Linked DNA regions of Homo sapiens: region 1 is linked to region 2. Evidence: promoter capture Hi-C in human tissues and cell types (Jung and others, 2019). All regions are on one chromosome and are shown on one strand. The core of a region is centred on a gene start or on the middle of the fragment in contact, and the rest is flanking DNA. Distances in the headings are between cores, read along the strand shown. Region 1 has its middle 22 kb from the start of ITM2C. Region 2 holds the start of C2orf72 (chromosome 2 open reading frame 72).

Region 1 (4,382 bases), core at 1,642-4,141, 200 kb after region 2:
ACCAAAGTACATTGTTAAGGTATTTTCTGTCTTTTAATAACTAAATTATCTTCTCAGACATGAATGGGAAGGTATAAAACACCATTAAAGATTGGGATGGGGGCCTATGAGCAAACCTTACCTGTAGTCTTTCCAGGATGAACCACATAGTCGTTAAGGTAAATACAGAAGGAATAAATAGATAAAGATATGCCTGGATGGTAGGATGGCTGGCTGGATACAGAGTTTCACAACCTTGGGACCATTGTTATTTTAGGCTGAAAAACTCAGTTGTATGGGCTGTCCTCTGCATTAGTAACATCCCTGGTCTCCAACTACTGGATGCCAGAAGCATCCTGCTCCTCACCACCAATTGTGATAACCAAAGAATATCTATCTCTAGGCATTGCTGGAAGTTCCTTGCAAAATTGCCCCTGGTTGATAGATGTTTGGATGGCCACATGGATGGCTGAATGAATGGCTGGCTGGCTGGCTGGCTGGATGGATGGATGGATGGGTGAGGATGACAAAGGCAATAGTGTGGGGAAAAGCAAGAGAGATCAGATTGTTACTGTGTCTGTGTAGAAAGAAGTAGACATAGGAGACTCCATTTTGTTATGTACTAAGAAAAATTCTTCTGCCTTGAGATTCTGTGACCTTACCCCCAACCCCGTGCTCTCTGAAACATGTGCTGTGTCAACTCAGAGTTGAATGGATTAAGGGCGGTGCAAGATGTGCTTTGTTAAACAGATGCTTGAAGGCAGCATGCTCATTAAGAGTCATCACCACTCCCTAATCTCAAGTACCCAGGGACACAAAAACTGCGGAAGGCCGCAGGGACCTCTGCCTAGGAAAGCCAGGTATTGTCCAAGGTTTCTCCCCATGTGATAGTCTGAAATATGGCCTCGTGGGAAGGGAAAGACCTGACCGTCCCCCAGCCCGACACCCGTAAAGGGTCTGTGCTGAGGAGGATTAGTATAAGAGGAAGGCATGCCTCTTGCAGTTGAGACAAGAGGAAGGCGTCTGTCTCCTGCCCGTCCCTGGGCAATGGAATGTCTCGGTATAAAACCCGATTGTATGTTCCATCTACTGAGATAGGGAAAAACCGCCTTAGGGCTGGAGGTGGCACCTGCGGGCAGCAATACTGCTTTGTAAAGCATTGAGATGTTTATGTGTATGCATATCTAAAAGCACAGCACTTAATCCTTTACCTTGTCTATGATGCAAAGACCTTTGTTCACGTGTTTGTCTGCTGACCCTCTCCCCACAATTGTCTTGTGACCCTGACACATCCCCTTCTCGGAGAAACACCCACGAATGATCAATAAATACTAAGGGAACTCAGAGGCTGGCGGGATCCTCCATATGCTGAACGCTGGTCCCCCGGGTCCCCTTATTTCTTTCTCTATACTTTGTCTGTGTCTTTTTCTTTCCTAAGTCTCTCGTTCCACCTTACGAGAAACACCCACAGGTGTGGAGGGGCAACCCACCCCTACACAATAGAAACTAGAGACCCTCCAAGGGAAGGAGGAAGAAACCTGGGAGGTAGAATACAGTCTGCTTAGCCACCAGGGACCCTCTGCTCCTGGCAGTTCTTCAGTGCTAAACCTTTATATATTAATTGACTTGGTTACTTAGGAGATTGGACAGGGACAGGTATCTGGAAAGGAGGGTTGAGGAGTCCAGAATAATTAGTGGGTGGGAACAGGGTAGGCACAGAAAATCTACTCATGCTTTCCTCTCAGCAGCTAGGACAGAACTGTTGTGAACAAAGTCTACCAGGAAATGACTTAAGATGATTCGGTTTCCCAGCATAAAACTGGGCGGACATGGTGAGGAAGGCGGTTCCCCTGAGGTATCTATAGTTATTCATATATCTATACCTATGTCATCTTGGAAGATAGAGATCTAGATCTATATTAAAAGCAGCAGCCGCTAACATGTATTGAGCATTTACTACTTTCAATACAGGCATAGTGCTAAGCACTTTATGTCCATTACTTAATTTCTCCCATCTCTATGAGGTAGTTATTACTACCATTACTATTGTCCCCATTTTATAGACCTGGAAACTGAGGCATTTAATTTTCGCAAAGTCACCAAGCTGCTAAGCGGTAGAACAAGGATTTGAACCCAAGCAGGCCACCTCCAGAATCTGTACTGTCTACCATCAGCATCTTTAATGATTTGTCTGTTCTGCTGTCTATATTCTCAACCTCATCTCCTTTAGTGACTTGGAGCCTTTAAAACAGCAATGCCTGTTACTGATTGCTAGGGGTTCAGCCTAGGTCCCGCTGCTTGCCACACAGAAAGCCAGTCGCTGAGACAGTGAGTATTGCCAAGGAAAATGGCTTTATTACAGGTGACGTCAGCTGGAGAGATGGGAGGCAAGCCTCAAATATGTCTTTCTCTCGCCAACTAAAGTTAGGGGTTTAGATTATAGCAGGGGAAGGAAAACAGGTGGGGCAAGGAAGAAGAGTTGCTCAGCAGGTGGTCAGATGAGGGGTCTAGCGTCTGTCTCATAACCACGTGCAGGAGAACAGGAGTTAGGGAGGGGTGAAGAAGAGGAGCTGGTCAACAGGCAGCAGGTGTGACTCACTGTACAAATGGAAGTTTCTCAAGCTTCAGTTCTATGGGCATCTGGCTTGTTGGAAAATTGAGCCTGTCTTTCCTCTGTTACTTCTGCCGTAATGGCCTCCTTCTCTTCATGAATGACTGGGTCAGGGGTCCCTTACTGGGCCCTGGGGAGAGCAGTTGCTGATGAACTCTTACTTTATGATATGATGTTCCATTCCATCCCATTGCTTATTGTTTTCTCATCTTCCTTTCTGCATGTAGAGACCCCAGTGACAGCAACTTTGTCTTCATTATCTTCATACACCCAGTGGTTGTTACAATGCCTAACTCAAGAAACAGTTGTTCAGTAACTGCTAATAGTAGGTTATTGTGCTTTATCATCTTTAGTGCTTACTAAATTCAGTTGAATAAAACAGTTATATACAGCAAGTTTTATACAGCAAGTATAAAAATACTTCCAAGTGTTTGACATATTATTTCTCTTAATTTGAACATATCCCTTATGTAAAGGTACCACTTTTATCCTGGTTTTACAGACAAGGAAACTGACATACAAAAGGTTAAGGTGGCTGGGCAAATTGGCTCACACCTATAATCCCAGTACTTTGGGAGGCCAAGGCAGGTGGATCACCTGAGGTCAGGAGTTTGAGACCAGCCTGGCCAACATGGCGAAACCCCATCTCTACTAAAAATACAAAAATTAGCGGGGCATGGTGGTGTGCACCTGTAGTCCCAGCTACTTGGGAGGCTGAGGCATGAGAATCACTTGAATCCAGGAGGTAGAGGTTGTGTTGAGCTGAGATCACGCCACTGCACTCTAGCCTGGGTGACAGAGTGATACGGTGTCTCAAACACACACACACACACACACACACACACACACACACGGTTAAGGTACTTGCTTGAGGTCACACATTTAGTAGATCAGTCTGTCTGGATGCATAGCCTGGAGCTCTTACTGTGCAGGCGAGGACTGTGGGAAAGGAGCTGTGGAGGACAATTAGGATGAAGGGAGGTAGAAAGTTGGGCAGAGATGGCTGGATGCAGTGGCTCATGCCTGTAATCCCAGCACTTTGGGAGGCCGAGGCGGGTGGATCACCTGAAGTCGGGAGTTCGAGACCAGCCTGACCAACATGGAGAAACCCCAGCTGTACTAAAAAAAAAAAAAAAAAATTATGTATATATTTAGCTGGGCGTGGTGGCGCATGCCTGTAATCCCAACTACTCGGGAGGCTGAGGCAGAAGAATCGCTTGAATCTGAGTGGCGGAGGTTGTGGTGAGCTGAGATCCTTCCATTGCACTCCAGCCTGGGCAACAAGAGTGAAACTCCCTCTCAAAAAAAAAAAAAAAGACAGAAAGAAAGAATGAAAGTTGGGCAGAGATAACTAAAATCCAAATATGGATAAATAAGTGTTTAAAGACAGCTTTAAAAGATAGTTAGATTTTTTTTCAATAAAGATCAGAAATAGCCCAGTGCAGTGGCTCACACCTGTAACCCCAGCACTTTGGGAGGCTAAGGCAGGAGGATCGCTTGAGCCCAGGAGTTCAACACCAGCCTGTACCACAAAGCGAGACCCCATCTCTACAAAAAAAATTTAAAAATTAGCTGAGCGTGGTGGTGCCCGCCTGTAGTCCCAGCTACTCAGGAGGCTGAGGCAGGAGGATGGCTTGAGCCCAGGAAGTTGAGGCTGCAGTGAGCTGTGATCGCACCACAGCACTCCGGCCTGGGTGACAGAATGAGACCCTGTCTCAAAGAATAAAATAATGATAATTTGTGTAGTATGAGTCTGTCAAATTTAGCTGGCTGTCCTGTGTTTAATGTGGCA
Region 2 (4,783 bases), core at 571-3,070:
CTCTTTTTTTTTTTTTTTTTTAATACTTTAAGTTTTAGGGTACATGTGCACAACGTGCGGGTTTGTTACATATGTATACATATGCCATGTTAGTGTGCTGCACCCATTAACTCGTCATTTAGCATTAGGTATATCTCCTAATGCTATCCCTCCTCCCTCCCCCTACGCCACAACAGTCCCTGGTGTGTGATGTTCCCCTTCCTGTGTCCATGTGTTCTCATTATTCAATTCCCACCTACGAGTGAGAACATGCTGTGTTTGGTTTTTTGTCCTTGCGATAGCCAGATGCAGCTACTCTTAATGTGCATATTTTCATCCTAGAACATTGGAGAGTTCCTGTAAAGCCTTGTGTTCCAGGAGGAAGGAGATCCTGACCCTTCTGCTGATGGCAGCAGTCACGGGGGCTGGGAAAAGACCCTTAAATCCCTTCCACCTTTCAGGAGAATGTGGAGGGAAAAGGTGGCCTCAGCAGACCTGGGGGAGGCTGAGGGACACAGCAGTTGGGTGCACAGCCTTGGTGGGTGGCCAGAAATCAATAGAAAATGTACTCTTAGTCCCTCTCACCTCCCCACACGTCAAGTCCCGAGCACCCATTCCTTGCCCTCTTCCTAAAACCAGGCAGGGCTTCCAGGACGAGCCTCCACCGCGCTGGAGATGCCCCTCCGCCCCTCCTAGAGCTCCCGACGCATCTCTGGCTGCGCAGCGCCCTAGAATTTAGCTTCTGGCACCGCCAATCTCCTTAGCACCCATCCACCCCCTTGAAACTTTCCCATCCCAAGGCTTTCCCATTTCCTTCCCCACTCCTCTTCTCTCCCCACCCCCACCCACCCCGTAACTCCTAGATCTCGGCCTTGCCCGATTCATCCCTTCTCTCTACCCACTCCCTCTGCCTTCTACTCGGCCCCTCAGCTTTCCCACGCCCCCTAGGCATCTCCCGTGCACTCCGGACCCTTCCGGGACAGACTCGATCCGCTACGCACGGCCCGCTCTCCGCTAGCTGCGAGGCCTGGCTCTAGGCACCTCCCTGCTCTGAGCCTCAGTTTACCTCGGTGCTCAATAAGGGAATGGCCAAAGGGGTCCAACTTGGGGGACGTGCCCGAGCCACCGCCCGCCCGCGCCCAGCCGGGCCCCGCGCAGTCTCACCTGGTTGCCCGGCTCCGGCGGCTTGCAGGGCCCTGCAGGCGGCCGCCTGGACGGCCAGGCAGGAGGCCGGGAGGCCGGGGCAGTAGGCGGCCGCCTGCACGGGCCCCCCCGCCTGGCGGCCGAACACGGCGCGCAACAGCGCCTCCAGCAGCCGCAGCCCCGGCGCCACCGCGTCCTCTGGCCCGGCCTCGGCCACCAGCACCCCGACCAGCGCCGCCCCGGCCCGCCGCCGGCCGCGCACGTCCCGCAGCATCTCCCGCAGGCGGCGCCGCGGCTCCCGGGCGGCCAGCGACGACGCGCGGCACAGCACGAAGACCAGCGGCGAGCGGATGGCGCGCGCCGCCGCCGCCGCCGCCCCCGCCGCCCCAGCCGCCCTCGCCGCCCTCTGCGCCCCGCGCGCCGCCCCGGGCCCCGCGCCCTCTGCCGCCGCGCCGCCCGGCTTGGCCGCGCCTGGCTCCGGCGGGAACACCGCCCGTGCGAAGTCCCGCAGCAGCGCGCGGCTCTGTTCGCGCTCCCACAGCTCGCCCACCAGCAGCACCTGCCCGCGGCCCCCCGCCGCTTCCACCAACGCCTGGAAGGGCGGCTCGGCAGGGCGCGCAAGCCGGGCCGCCAGCGCCTCCAGCTCGCGCTCCATGCTGGCCGCCGCCCGCCCTCTGCGGCCGCCGCGGCCCGGGCGCACCCGCTGCCCGCCTCTCGGGGCGGTGGCGCCCCGGCACAGAGGACACGCCCCCGAGGGCCGAGCCCAGCCGGACCCCCGGGCCCCCGGGCGGGGCCTCTGTGTGCACGCGCCCCTGGGCGCAGCCCGCATCGCGGGCCCGGGTGGGAGGAAGAGGGCTTTCTCCTCAGCCCTCCAAGGGTGGCTCCTCCCGAAGTCCCTGCGCAGACGCGGGGAAACAGAGAGTCATTCATTCATTCATTTGTTCGTCCATCCCACACATACTTACTGCGCACCTACTATGTGCAGGCGCTGGGCAGCCGAGGTTGGGAAGACAGACAATTATCCCCTCACTAGATAAGATCGTTTGGAGACCTGGAGCAGAGTCCTGCACAGTTTGGGGTCTTGCCGAGGTGGGGTGGGAGGTAGGGGGGTAGGGGGCGGAGGGCGCAGAAGTGGGTAGGAAGGTGAGATAAAAGAGAACACGCAGGGGTTATTTCTGCCACCCAGCTTTCCTTTTGGGCTTCAACATTTAGCAAAAACTGACCGAGGGTCCATTATTTCCACAAATACTTATTGTACCACCCCAGGCGCTGGGGTTGAAACCCAGACTGTTTCCGTAAAGCAGAAAGTCTAGGGGGCCAGATGCAGGACACGGATGGTGCTCTGATCTGCGTGGGGAGCAAGGGGCCAGCCAGGTCAGAAGCAGGAATGCATTTCCCTTCCTTCTAAGGATCTAGGTCAGCCTTGTCCAATAGAACATTCTGTGATGATGGAAAACTTTTTTATTGTCTGCACCATATGTGACTATTATTGAGTACCTGAAATCTGGCGAGTGCAACTGAAGAACTGAGTATTACATTTCACGTAATTTGTAATGAAATGTAAAATTAAAGCAGAAAGTGACAAGATGATAATGTACTTAAAGGGCTGGCACCTTTCTCTGAATAGTACCCTAAAGACGCCGCAGAAGCAAGAGGGGAGTTGGTAAGGACTCTGAGAAACCAATGTAAAACCAGGGAAGGCCTGTCGCCTCCTCCCCTCAGTGCCATAGAAGGGGGATAGGCTGAGTGAACGCTATACACTTGTGCTCTTTTCTTTGCTTGCATTGGCCTGAGTAGACCATTTCTCAACCCCATCTCCCCAGCACTGCTGGGAGGCAGAAAACAGCTGTGCTAGCCAGGGATGGCATATCAGGCTGGGGCTAGCAGCACAGAAAAACCAGACCCGGCAGCCTCTTCTTCCCACTTCATGGGTCAGGAATTCCAACCACGAGACCTGCCTCATGAAAGAGGATTGGCCAGGGGAGAGTGCCCAGAAGCTCCCTGAGTGGGGTGTCTGGTGTGTGTGAGGGTGGCACATGGGGAGTGGCTACATTCACATTTGATGCCAGAGGCAAGTCCCATCACACCCCCATTCCTTAAGCTCCCAGGTGGGATATATAGGAAGAGCCTAGGTTTTAGTCTCTTCCAGGTGTACCTATCGCCAACCAAAGTAGCTGATATCTAGGGAAACATGAATTCACTGGGAAAAATAATTAGACTTCTGGGGCCGGGCGCTGTGGCTTGTGTCTGTAATCCCAGCACTTTGGGAGGCCAAGGCAGGTGGATCACCTGAGGTCGGGGATTGGAGGCCAGCCTGACCAACATGGAGAAACCCAGTCTCTACTAAAAATACAAAATTAGCCAGGCATGGTGGTGCATGCCTGTAGTCCCAGCTACTTGGGAGGCTAAGGCAGGAGAATGGCTTGAACCCAGGAGGTGGAGGTTTTGGTGAGCTGAGATCGTGCCATTGCACTCCAGCCTGGGCATCAAGAGCGAAACTCTGTCTCAAAAAATAAATAAATGAATAAAATAAAATAAAAAATAAAAAACAGTTAGGCTTCTGGAAAGTATAAAACAAAGCAGGTTTAATGGATATATGAATTAAGATTCATTTCTTAATAACACAGACAACACTAATAACAATGAAAATTTCTTTTTCTCTTTTGTAGACGTTTGGGGATGGACAGTTTATGGCTGAAATAGTATAATAGTTCTGCTTTACTAGGTGTTTGAAGACTCAGATTTCATACCAAGTCACTATTGCCCTCTGACATCTTCATAATCCAAATTGGCTGCTAAAGCTTGGGCCATCACACCTGTATTCCCAGAAGCTGGGTAGTAGAAGGACTGAGGAAGGAACAAAAATCTGGTTGACTTCAGATTTCTTAGCAACAACATTGGGTTTAAGAAAAAATGGAAAAATTGTTTTAAAGTATCAAAGAAAAATAACTTTGACCCTAGATTTGGATTTCTAGCTAAATTATCAGGTATATAAAGAATCAGAAGGCGTATCACATATAGCCCCTCTTTGAAAACACTATTGGAGGAAGTGCCCTATCAAAAAGGGAACTAAATCTGGCTGGGCATGGTGGCTCACTCCTGTTACCCCAGCACTTTGTAGACTGAGGCTGGCAGATCATCTGAAGTCAGGAGTTCAAGACCAGCCTGGCCAAAATGGTGAAACCCCGTCTCCAATAAAAATACAAAAATTAGCTGGGCATGGTGGTGTGTGCCTGTAATCCCAGCTACTTGGGAGGCTGAGGCAGGAGACTCGCTTGAACCCAGGAGACGGAGGTTGCGGTGAGCCAAGATTATACCAGTGTACTCCAGCCTGGGTGACAGAGTGAGACTATCTTAAAAAAAAAAAAAAAAAAAGAGGAACTAAGAGTGCTCAATAATAGCAAGTAAGAGGGATTAAATCACTTGTCTAAATAACAGTGCAAGGCCATGCCAGCAAAGCACAGCCTAAGTGGGTATAATAAACTGGGAGGGTGGGTGGCAGAGCCAGGGTGAAACCTACAAGTTGACCAGAAAGGGAATTAACCCCATCCAGGTCACCTCTGAGGAAGAGAGAAAGACAAGTTCTAGAGAAGCACTGTCAGGTATACTGGGATTTTTAGCACATTCTTACAAGGCTTGTCTAAAACCAACATGCTCTGCC

Evidence for each region. Contacts are between HindIII fragments. The study calls those that stand out against the background at their distance.
Region 1: a fragment that was not itself captured here is called in contact with the fragment with the promoter of C2orf72 in region 2 in 2 of the 25 tissues and cell types used here (lymphoblastoid cells and mesendoderm cells).

The regions. Positions count from the first base shown.
Region 1 is chr2:230,840,733-230,845,114 of GRCh38, reverse strand. No RefSeq gene overlaps it. Among named protein-coding and RNA genes, the nearest start is that of ITM2C, 22 kb to the left of the region's middle. RefSeq lists an enhancer at 814-1,439. The HindIII fragment of the contact is 4,352 bases long and covers 716-4,382 here.
Region 2 is chr2:231,034,560-231,039,342 of GRCh38, reverse strand. It overlaps C2orf72 (chromosome 2 open reading frame 72), which reads right to left and starts at 1,820. Exons shown (of 3, transcript NM_001144994.2): 1 at 1,144-1,820. The coding sequence starts at 1,777. The HindIII fragment of the contact is 15,599 bases long and covers 1-4,783 here.